Regions from separate parts of the Homo sapiens genome. Here region 2 is linked to region 1. The links are contacts of gene promoters, found by promoter capture Hi-C in blood cells and fetal thymus (Javierre and others, 2016). All regions are on one chromosome and are shown on one strand. Each heading gives the region's core, a stretch centred on a gene start or on the middle of the fragment in contact. The rest is flanking DNA. Distances are from core to core; before and after follow the strand shown. Region 1 holds the start of CNOT10-AS1 (CNOT10 antisense RNA 1). Region 2 overlaps GLB1 (galactosidase beta 1).

What was found. Contacts are between HindIII fragments. The CHiCAGO score rates a contact against its expected background, and 5 or more counts as called.
Region 2: a contact is called between a fragment that was not itself captured here and the fragment with the promoter of CNOT10-AS1 in region 1, in 1 of 17 cell types (M1 macrophages). The highest score is 5.2, in M1 macrophages.

What each region holds. Positions count from the first base shown.
Region 1 is chr3:32,734,027-32,739,792 of GRCh38, forward strand. It overlaps CNOT10-AS1 (CNOT10 antisense RNA 1), which reads right to left and starts at 3,431. Exons shown (of 2, transcript NR_046718.1): 1 at 3,373-3,431. CNOT10 (CCR4-NOT transcription complex subunit 10) reads left to right here. Exons shown (of 19, transcript NM_015442.3): 12 at 774-950; 13 at 3,384-3,464. The HindIII fragment of the contact is 21,232 bases long and covers 1-5,766 here.
Region 2 is chr3:33,028,288-33,033,671 of GRCh38, forward strand. All of the region lies in intron 10 of GLB1 (galactosidase beta 1), which reads right to left. Among named protein-coding and RNA genes, the nearest start is that of GLB1, 66 kb to the right of the region's middle. The HindIII fragment of the contact is 1,589 bases long and covers 750-2,338 here.

The sequences.
Region 1 (5,766 bases), core at 2,181-4,680:
TTATTTGTAAAGTGGCAAACTTTGCAAATAATTAGCTGCCTTAATTTGTTTTTGTCAAAGAAGAAAATTGTTCTCTACCATTTAAAAGTTTTTCCACAGTTTAAAAAATATCTGATACACAATAATTTAGTCTTAATTTAGTTAAACTATAATGCAAGAATATTTTTTAAAACTATTATGATAAAGCATTTCAAAGTTTTAAAGCAATTTCAAAGTTGTTACTACTTTTCAAAATTTTATTTTTCTCTAGTAAAGATTCTCTTTGGGTATATCAAACCAACAGAAAGTTGTATAAAATGTCAATGAAATTATAAGACAAAAAGTAATGTTGGTGTTTCAAAGTGTATAGAGGCATTTTTGAAAGCAAGGATCAACCAAAGTAAGGCTCAAACGTGAAAATCTGTTTTCTTCCCTTTCGTCCCATTCTTAGTATACCTCTCCTTGCCCTCATTACAGTTGCCCTTGTCTGCAGTTTCTCTAGTATGTTAACATTAACATTGTGATATACATCAAATTATCTCTTCTCCTTGGTCTCATTCCTAGAGACACAGTGTATGTAATTTATATACTTGCAATCCATTATTTATACTATTTACAACCTATACTTAGGATTTGGGTTCTTTAGCATGCTTTTATAACTGCTTATATTAAAATTTCTACCTATCAAAAGGCATAGCTTTCATTTATAATCAATTGGTTTTATTCCTCATAATAAAAGAGCCTTATTTTAAAATATTTTATCCACTTAGCTAATTTGGTTTTGTTCTTTTAAGTGATGGGCAGTCTTCGGCCATTCCTGTAGCCAGTATGGAGTTTGCAGCCATATGTCTCAGAAATGCCTTGTTGCTGCTACCTGAAGAACAGCAAGATCCAAAGCAGGAAAATGGGGCTAAAAATAGTAATCAATTAGGTGGGAACACAGAGAGCAGCGAAAGCAGTGAAACTTGCAGGTATTCTAATCCTTGTGACCTCCTTTGGCAAAATCCTTTCAGGACTTCTTTAGTAAACCCTTTGTTCTTTAAGTAAATTCCTAAAATCTTCAACCTGAATTTCTGAAATTCTGTTTTGCGTAACAAGAAAGGAAAGTATTTATGTTTCTGAGTCTTTCTGGAAGAGAGAAATAAGGTGAAGGCTAAGTTAGGAGAGATCCTTGAAAAAGAAAAGTAGAAAGTAGCAGCTTTGGCCGGACGCAGTGGCTCATGCCTGCCTGTAAAAGGCTGAGGCAAGAAAATTGCTTGAACCCAGGAGGCAGAGGTTGCAGCGAGCCGAGATTGTGCCACTGCACTCCAGCTTTGGCGACAGAGTGAGACTTCATCTCAAAAAAGAAAGTAGCAGCTTTTCATTGACAAGAGGGATATTTGTAAGAAGTCCTGTTGTCAGACAGCTTTAAAAAAAATTTGGCCAGGTGTGGGGGCTCACGCCTGTAATCCCAGCACTTTGGGAGGCCAAGATGGGTAGATCACTTGAGGTTAGGAGTTCAAGACCAGCTGGCCAACATGGTGAAACCCCGTCTCTACTAAAAATACAAAAATTAGCTGGGCGTGGTGGTGGGCACCTATAATCCCCACTACTGGGAAAGCTGAGGCAAGAGAATTACTTGAACCCGGGAGGCAGAGGTTGCAGTGAGCCACGATCATGCCACTGCACTCCATCCAGCCTGGTGACAGAATGAGACTCCATCTCAAAAAAACAGAAAATTTATTAAAATAAACACTTGACTCCTAAAGCTGCTTATTTCTTATTATCCTCTGTCTATCCTCTTAATATACTATAATCACTAACCTCCAGAATATTTTTGTATATTTCTGGTTTTCTAGTATAAATTCAAAATTATGCAAATCTAGGCAGGGTGCTGGAGGAGGCCAAGAGTTCAAGTCTAGTCTGGGCAGCATAGCAAGACCCCATCTCTTCAAAAAAATTAAAAATAAGTAAATAAAAATTATGTGACTATAGAAATTGGGAGAACTTTTGGTAAGGACAAAACACATACCATTATATATAGGGAATTCAGCTTTTTTCTTTCTTTCTTTTCTTTTGTTTTCTTTTTGTTTTGTTTTTTGTTTGTTTGTTTGTTTTTGAGACAGAGTCTCCCTCTGTCACCCAGGCTGGAAAGCAGTGGCACGATCTCAACTCACTGCAACCTCCACCTCACAGGCTCAAGCGATTCTCCTGCCTCAACCCCCTAAATAGCTGGGATTATAGGCCCAGCGCCACTATGCCCGGCTAATTTTTGTATTTTTAGTAGAGATAGGGTTTTGCCATGTTGTCCAGGATGGTCTTGAACTCCTTACCTCAAGTGATCCTCCCTCCTCGGCCTCCCAGAGTGCTGAGATTGCAGGCATGAGCCACTACACCCAGCTGGAAATTCTGCTTTTTATACATGGCATCGTTAAACTTACATCTCCCATCCCAGCATTTTTTCTTGATTATAATAGCAATCAATACATATTTACTATAGAAAATTTGGGCCAGGCATGGTGGCTCACACCTGTAATCCCAGTGCTAAGGGAGACCAAGGCTGAAGGATTGCTTGAAGCTAGGAGTTCGAAGCTAGCCTGTCCAACATAATGAGACCCCATCTCTACAAGAAATAAAAAAATTAGTTGAGTGTGGTGCCAGGCACCATTAGTACCAGCTACTTGGGAGGCTGGTGTAGGAGGATCGCCTGAGCCCAGGAGTTTGAAGCTGCAGTGAGCTATGATCATGCCACACTGCACTCCAGCCTGGGCAACAGTCTCAAAAACCCAGTCTCAAGAAAAGGCAGGGGTTGAGGGGTCAGGGTAATTAGAATAATGAGAAATGCGCGAAAATATTCAGTTATTTCCCTTTTGTAGTAAAGATACTGTTTTCAGTTAGAGATTTTTTAAAGCAGTATTGGAGGGGTGGGGGCAGTGGGGGAAGAAACTAATATACAATATAGCTTTAACATGTTAGTGTTACCAAATTACTAAGTATTTCCATTGTTTAACTCTTTTACACTTTTGTTGTAAAAAGTTACATGGGAGGCCGGGCGAGGTGAGACACCTCTGTAAATCCTAGCACTTTGGGAGGCCAAGGCAGGTGGATCACCTGAGGTCGGGAGTTCGAGACCAGCCTTGCTAACATGGTGAAACCCCGTTTCTACTAAAAATACAAAAAATTAGCTGGGCGTGGTGGTGTGCGCCTGTAATCCCAGCTACTTGGGAGGCTGAGGCGGGAGAATCACTCAAACCTGGGAGGCAGAGGTTGCAGTGAGTTGAGATCGTGCAATTGCACTCCATCCTGAGCGACGAGCAAAACTCTGTCTCAAAAAAAAAGTTGGGAGTAAGGACAGGGAAACAAAATTTTACGTTTAATTATTTATTTGTTGCTCTTCATAATTAAGACTCTTACCTCTATTTTAGCAGTAAAAGCCATGATGGAGATAAATTCATTCCAGCTCCACCTTCTTCTCCATTGAGAAAACAGGAATTAGAAAACTTAAAGTGAGTATCTAAACAAAATTAGCATTGCATCTATTGAAATGAACATATTCATGGCTGGGCACAGTGGCTCATACCTCTAATCCCAGCACTTTGGGAGGCCGAGGCTGGTGGATCACTAGGTCAGGAGTTCGAGACCAGCCTGGCCAAGATAGTGAAACCCTGTCTGTACTAAAAATACAAAAATTAACCGGGCGTGGTGGCAGGCGCCTGTAATCCCAGTTACTTGGGAGGCTGAGGCAGGAGAATTGCTTGAACCCGGGAGGCGGAGGTTGCAGTGAGTGTGCCACTGCACTCTAGCCTGAGCAACTCTGTCTCAAAAAAAAAAAGAACACATTCTTTTTTATCTTGTTGATACTGTTAATATGATGAATTACACTGATCAAATGTTAAACCAATCTTTCAATCTTGTGATAAACCCTACTTGGTCAGAATGTATTTTCTTTTGTATAAATTTTTAGATTTGATTTGTTAATACTTTGTTGGGAATAAGTGCTTCTATATCCGTGAGGAAGATTGGTCCATACTTTTCTTTCCTAGAAATGATTTTGTCAGATTTGGTTTCAGGATTATGCTGACCATATAAATGAGTTGAGAAGTGCTTCATCTTCCTCTGTTTTCTGCAAGAGTCTGTGTAAGATAGGTATTACTCATGGACACAAAGAGGGGAACAACGGGCGCTAAGGCCTCCTGGAGGGTGGAGGGTGGTAGAGGATCAGAAAAAATAACTATTGGGTACTAGGCTTAGTACCTGGGTGACAAAATAATCTGTACAACAAACCCCCATGACACAAGTTTACCATATAACAAACCTGCACATGTAGCCCTGAACTAATAAAAAGGACAGGTATTACTTCTTCCTTAAGTATTTGATAGAATGCACCAGTGAAACCATCTAGCCTAGGATTTTCTTTGCAGGAAGATTTTTGATAATGAATTCAACTTGTTCAACAACACTTTTTTCAGATTTTATATTTCTTTTTTTTTTTTTTTGAGATGGATTCTCGCTCTGTCTCCCAGGCTGGAGTGCAGTGGCGCGATCTCGGCTCACTGCAAGCTCCGCCTCCTGGGTTCACACCATTCTCCTGCCTCAACCTCCCGAGTAGCTGGGACTACAGGCGCCTGCCACCACACAGGGCTAATTTTTTGTATTTTTAGTAGAGACAGGGTTTCACCGTGTTAGCCAGGATGGTCTCGATCTCCTGACGTCGTGATCCACCCACCTCGGCCTCCCAAAGTGCTGGGTTTACAGGCGTGAGCCACAGCATCCGGCCTGTATTTCATCTTATCTCAGTTTGGTTAAGTTTTATTTTTCAAGGAATTTTCTAAGTTGTCAAATTTATTGGCATAACATTGTTCATAATATTTTTTTTACCTTTTTAATGTCTGTAGAATCTGCAGTTATACCTCTATTTTCTTTCTTTTTTTTTTTTTTGAGTTGGAGTTTTACTCTCTGTCCCAGGGTGGAGTGCAGTGGTATGATCTCGGCTCACTGCAACCTCTGCCTACCAGTTTCAGGCGATTCTCCTGCCTCAGCTTCCTAAGAAGCTGGGATTACAGGTGCCTGCTAGCACGCCTGGCTAAATTTTTGTGTTTTTAGTAGAGACGGGGTTTTACCATGTTAGCCAGGCTGGTCTCGAACTCCTGACCTCAGGTGATCCACCCGCCTCAGCCTCCCAAAGTTTTGGGATTACAGGCATGAGCCACTGCGCCCGGCCAGTTTTCATTTGTGATATTTGTGGGATCTCTTGCTTTCTCTCCTTTCTTCCCTAAGCAATCCTGCTAGCAATTTACATATTGGATTGATGTTTTCAGAGAATAGACTTCTACTTCATTTTCTGTTTTCTATTTCGTTTCTGCTCTTTATTTTATTCTTCTACTAACTCTGGTTTATTTTGCTCTTTTTTTAACTTCTTATGCTGGTCACTGATTTTTAGATAAAGGTCCTTTTCTACACAGTTCCCTTTAAGCCTGCTGTGACTTCCTTCCACAAACAGTTATGTTTTATTTGTTTATTTCACTCCATAGTGTCTTTTTTTTCAAAATTAAACTTCATTTAGAGACGATTGTAGATTCACATAATAGTCTAAAAAGTAATACAGATACCTGGGCAACATGGTGAGACCCTGTCTCTAAAAAAATCAAAAAATTAGGCCAGGTGCAGTGGCTCATGCCTGTGATCCCAGCACATTGGTGGGCTGCAGAGGCAGGCAGATCAGCTGAGGTCAGGAGTTCGAGATCAGCCTAGCCAACATGGTGAAACCCCATCTCTCCTAAAAATACAAAAGTTGGCCAGGTGTGGTGG
Region 2 (5,384 bases), core at 294-2,793, 290 kb after region 1:
TTTCTTTAACACATGAGAGTACAGCCCAGAAGATAAAGAAAGTTTATCTTCCTTTCTTGCTATTATGGTTATATCACCATTTTCAGCTTCTCTCCTAGTTATCTTTGTACCTTTAAAATAATATCCTTATATCTTTATTTATTAGTTCCATCAATTAGCATATTACCCTATGTCGCCTCTTTTTTCTCGTTTTGTTTTTTTGAGATGGAGTCTCAAACTTCATGTCTATAGCATTATCCTTTTAAATTTTTATTTTTTAAAAGTAACACTCTGAGTGTGGGGTGACTAGGTCAAAGGATATGAGTATAAGACTCTTAAAATAGTGTATACTCACATTTTCATCAAGTATCCATACTTGCTTATGTCATTTACCCAAAAATTTTTTTTTTTTTTTTGATACGGAGTTTCGCTCTTGTTGCCCAGGCTGGAGTGCAATGGCACAATCTCGGCTCACTGCAACCTCCACCTCCCAGGTTCCAGCGATTCTCCTGCCTCAGCCTCCCGAGTAGCTGGGATTACAGGCATGCACCACCACGCCTGGCTAATTTTTTGTATTTTTAGTAGAAACGGGTTTTCTCCATGTTGGTCAGGCTGGTCTCAAACTCCTGACCTCAGGTGATCCGCCCGCCTCGGCCTAAGTGCTGGGATTACAGGCGTGAGCCACTGCGCCTGGTCATCATTTACCCAATTTTCTATGTAGATCTTGATATTCTGATCAGTGATATTAGCTCATTATAATACAGATATTAAGCTTTCATCTGTCTATCCCATTTACTACAATTTTCTAACTTTTCATTTTAATATTGATGATTTTCATTGATACTAGTTTGATTATCATATAGCAAAATCCTCATCTTTACCTTAGCTAATTAATGTTTCAGAAAAGAAATGAACAAATATACCAAAATGCTATACTTCTAAACCATTATTTTTCCATAATAATTTGTGCTTTAATCATACTTTTCAGAGCAATCAGAAATGTTGCTTCTCATACTTAACCGGACACATTCAACACGGGAAGCTGCTCTTTTCCCTGTGGAATCCACTAGATTCAATGGTGACCAGCTTTTCCTTCACCAAGACCTCTAATGTTTTCATACATTCATCCAACAAACTCTTATTAAGAAAGTACTCTGTGTCAGGTCCTATGCTTGGTACTAGACTTATAAACCTATTCCAGAGAGTGAGAAATGTGTATAAATCAGTTATATTAATACACCACAAAAAGTAGTATTTTCACTAGTAAAGACACGGAATCAACCTAAATGACAATCAATGGTAGACTGGATAAAGAAAATGTGGCATATATACACCATGGAATACTATGCAGCCATAAAAAAGAAACAAGATCATGTCCTTTGCAGCAACATGGATGGAGCTGGAGGCCATTATCCTAAGCAAACTAATGCAGGAACAGAAAACCAAATACTGCACATTCTCACTTATAAGTGGGAGCTAAATGATGAGAACACATGGACACAAAGAGGGGAACAGACATCAGGGCCTACTTGAGGGTGGTAGGTAGGAGGAGGCAGAGGATCAAAGAATGACCTATCAGGTACTATGCTTATTACCTGGGTGACAAAATAATCTGTATACCAAACCCCTGTGACACACAGTTAACCTACACAACAATCTTGCACATGTACCCATGAACCTAAAAGTTAAGAAAAAAAAAAAAAAAGAAAAGTAATGTTTAAAAGATTTCTACAACATAAGTGATAGAAAACAAAATGTGACTAACTTGGCTGACAAGTGGGTCAAAGAAGACTCTGCAGATAAGGTAACTGAGGTGTGTCTTCATTTCCAGGTGAATAAAGGCAGAGGGTGCAGAGACCAGGAGGTATAAACAGTGCTGTTTCATTCATGGAATTGTATATAGCTCCAACTTAAGGCCAGGAAGTCACATCTAAGAAGGGAGAATTGAAAGATGAGGCTGGAAAAATATAGGGGCCAAGTCATGGAAGGTATCCTGACCACATCAGTGTTTTAGATACTACACTTGATCTTAGCCAAAAGACTGAGAAGCGATCACATCAGTGTTTTAGAGAAATCACTCTGGGAGAGGGACTAGAAAAGCCAACTCTACAGGAAACGAAGAGACCAGTACTACAAGAGAGCAGGTGACACTTTAAAAGACTATTTAACAGTTGCTAAGTAATATTGCCTTTCTCATCTGTAACCATCAGACATAAAACACTGGTTTTCACCAGCACTATACATCAGCAAGAGACAGCTGTGTCTGCGTATCAAGCCAATGTCATTCCAGTCATAAACAGTGCAGGATGATCAATCAGCCAGTGTAGACAAATCCTGGATCAAATTTCAAACTTCATTAAGCTTTTGAAGTACAGAAAAAATCACTGTGGCTGTTCTCCCATCCCCTCTTCACCACTCAGCCCAGTTACTACCTTTGGGAATCCCAGAATCCACTCCAATTATCAAGGTCCTCACTACCACTTGATTAATTTCTACAGTGACCCATTTCCAAAACATCAGCGGAACTCTTACGTTGATGGAATCCCTATAAAGAACAGAAACAAAACTCTTAAAATGGGTCTTAAGTTGATTTGACAGCATACAAAAATAAACTCACCACTGCCCCTCTCAGGAATCAGTAGGGAAGAGGAGGTCGCTGCCCTATATTTTTATGGTTCATCCTCGAGGTCAAAGTGTTAACCATGTTTGGTTGAGTTTTACCCACACCAAAGCAAATACCTTTTAAAATGCAAATGTCATGAGCTTTGCCATGCCTTGAAGATTCATATGAAGACAACCGCCTGGGGGCCTTCACCACTGAGCACAGGCTTATGCAGCCTGCTGGGAGATTATCCCCAGGAGTCCATGTCAGTGAAATATATTGCCCATCACCACCTAATGTGTTCTTGAAATGGATTACAGAGGAGACATATTCCGCTTTTTGAGTCTTTGATGAAGGAAGGAGGCAGGTAGAGCTATATACAGGGGATATCTACCATCCAATTTCCTTTACTTGATGCAAGCAAATATTTTGAAGATCATTTAACAAATCAGCTAATGGAATGTCTACAAAGTCTCATAAGAAAGAGCCCACTGGCTGGGTGCGGTGGCTTACACCTGTAATCCCAGCACTTTGGGAGGCCAAGGCGGGTGGATCACTTGAGGTCAGGAGTTTGAGACCAGCCTGGCCAACATGGCGAAACTCCGTCTCTACTAAAAATACAAAAATTAGCCACGTGCATTGGTGTGCGCTTGTAATCCCAGCTACTCGGGAGGCTGAGGCAAGAGAATCACTTGAACCAGGGAGGTGGAAGTTGCCTGGGTGACAGAGCAAGGCTCTGTCTCAAAAAAAAAAAAAAAAAAAAAAAAAAAAAATATATATATATATATATATATATATATATATATAATCTCCACTAAATCTTGTAGTTAATTTCTCTTTCAAACCAGAAATATCAAAAAAAGAGGGAAAATATGACATGTTAAGCTGCAATCTATCATAAGCTATTGAATTACATTCATTTCTTTTTTTGTTTTGTTTTGTTTTTGAGACAGAGTTTTGCTCTTGTTACCCAGGCTGGAGTGCAATGGCATGATCTCGGCTCACTGCAACCTCTGCCTCCTGGGTTCAAGCGATTCTCCTGCCTCAGCCACCAGAGTAGCTGGGACTACAGGCATACGCCATCATGCCCACCTAATTTTTTAATTTTTAGTAGAGATGGAGTATCACCATGTTGGCCAGGCTGGTCTCGAACTCCTGACCTCAGGTGATCCACCCACCTCGGCCTCCCAAAGTGCTGGGATTACACACGTGAGCCACTGAGCCTGGCAATTTCTAAAGACTCTGTCTCCTTTGTGGGTTCTCTTACTCTGCCCAGTTGTTAAAGCTTGGGATCCCCTGGGTTTGTCTTTTGCTTGGCCCATTGCCCTCCTCAGTCAGCTCCCCATGTGCAGTCTCAACCTCTCCCTGGACTTCGGCTTCCATTTGCACTGATCGCCCCAGAATCTGCGCCAACCTTTCCGACTTCTCCCTGGAGTGTCTTACTATTAAGTGTTGGTGCTTATGGAGAAATCTGTCTACCTGGATGTTCCTGGAAATATTGAGCTGAATAAGCCCAGAATTGAACTTGCTTCCCCTGTCCCTGCCAGGGCCTCCTCTGCAATCCTCTATCTCAGGTGCCGATCCCAGTACCCACCTAGTTATCTAACTAAGGTTTTAACCTGGAAAAATCAACAACTCCTCATTCTTTCTCACATCTGTGTTCAGTCAATCACCAAATCCTATCAATTTTACCTCCTGAACACTTTTCTTTCCTAATTTAAATTTTTAAATTTTCTTGTGGAGACAGTCTCACTATGTTGCCCAAGCTGGCCTTGATTTCCTGGCCTCAAGTGAACCTCCCACCTTGGCCTCCCAAAGTGCTGGGGTTACAGGCAAGAGCCACTGTGCCCAGCCCTAAATGTTTTTCAAATTGATTTCTTCCTCTCCACTCCCTGATGCCCCTGCCGTCATCTCATTCCTAGGCTACCATGGCAGCTGCATCCAGAAGTGCCCCAAGGGAGGAATCCCACCAGCATGTTCATAGTGTCATATGTTTTTGTAAAACTTGCAAAAGTAATATAATTTGACCATAACAAGCTAAGATCCTTGTCTCTTTCTGTTCCAGCTTCCCTGTGTCAAATGTCCTCTTCCTTTGGGAGGTTTTACAGGTTGCTATAGGCATTTTGGGGACCCAAGTAAAAATCAGTTAAAGTAGGGATTTACTTTACATGGGTACAGTAGGATATACTGATATGATTCCTGGTTACTTCCGTGAGTAGGTAAGTTATGAATAATGGATCATCCCTTCACCCAATGTGCTGACTCACTTAGCATCATAGTGCAATACAATTATGCCTAAAGGCACCCAGCCCCGGAAGTACATGGGTTGTGGAGAAGCAAGGTTTGAAATGTATGGGGCCAGAACCTGTCTGTGAAAATTTCTTCCAAAAATTATAGCTCATATATGAACAAACTGGAGAGATAGTTCCCCAATTTTGATTACAATCTTAAACATTTATATAATATTATCAGTAATAAAATGTGAAGCTTTTGTTTTTCTAAACTATCAATACTAAACAAATTTCAATCAGCCAGGCTAAAAAGAAAGATTTCTATTCTCTCTAGAGGAAAAGATTACAAACATTGTGGCCATCTGAAGAGGCAAACATTGTTGCTAAAAAAGGTGATAAGAGGCTAGGCGGGGTGGCTCACGCCTGTAATCCCAACACTTTGGGAGGCCCAGGCAGGTGGATCACTTGAGGTCAAGAGTTCGAGACCAGCCTGGTCAACATGGTGAAACCCCGTCTCTACTAAAATACAAAATTAGCTAGGTGTGGTGGCGTGCACCTGTAATCCCAGTCAC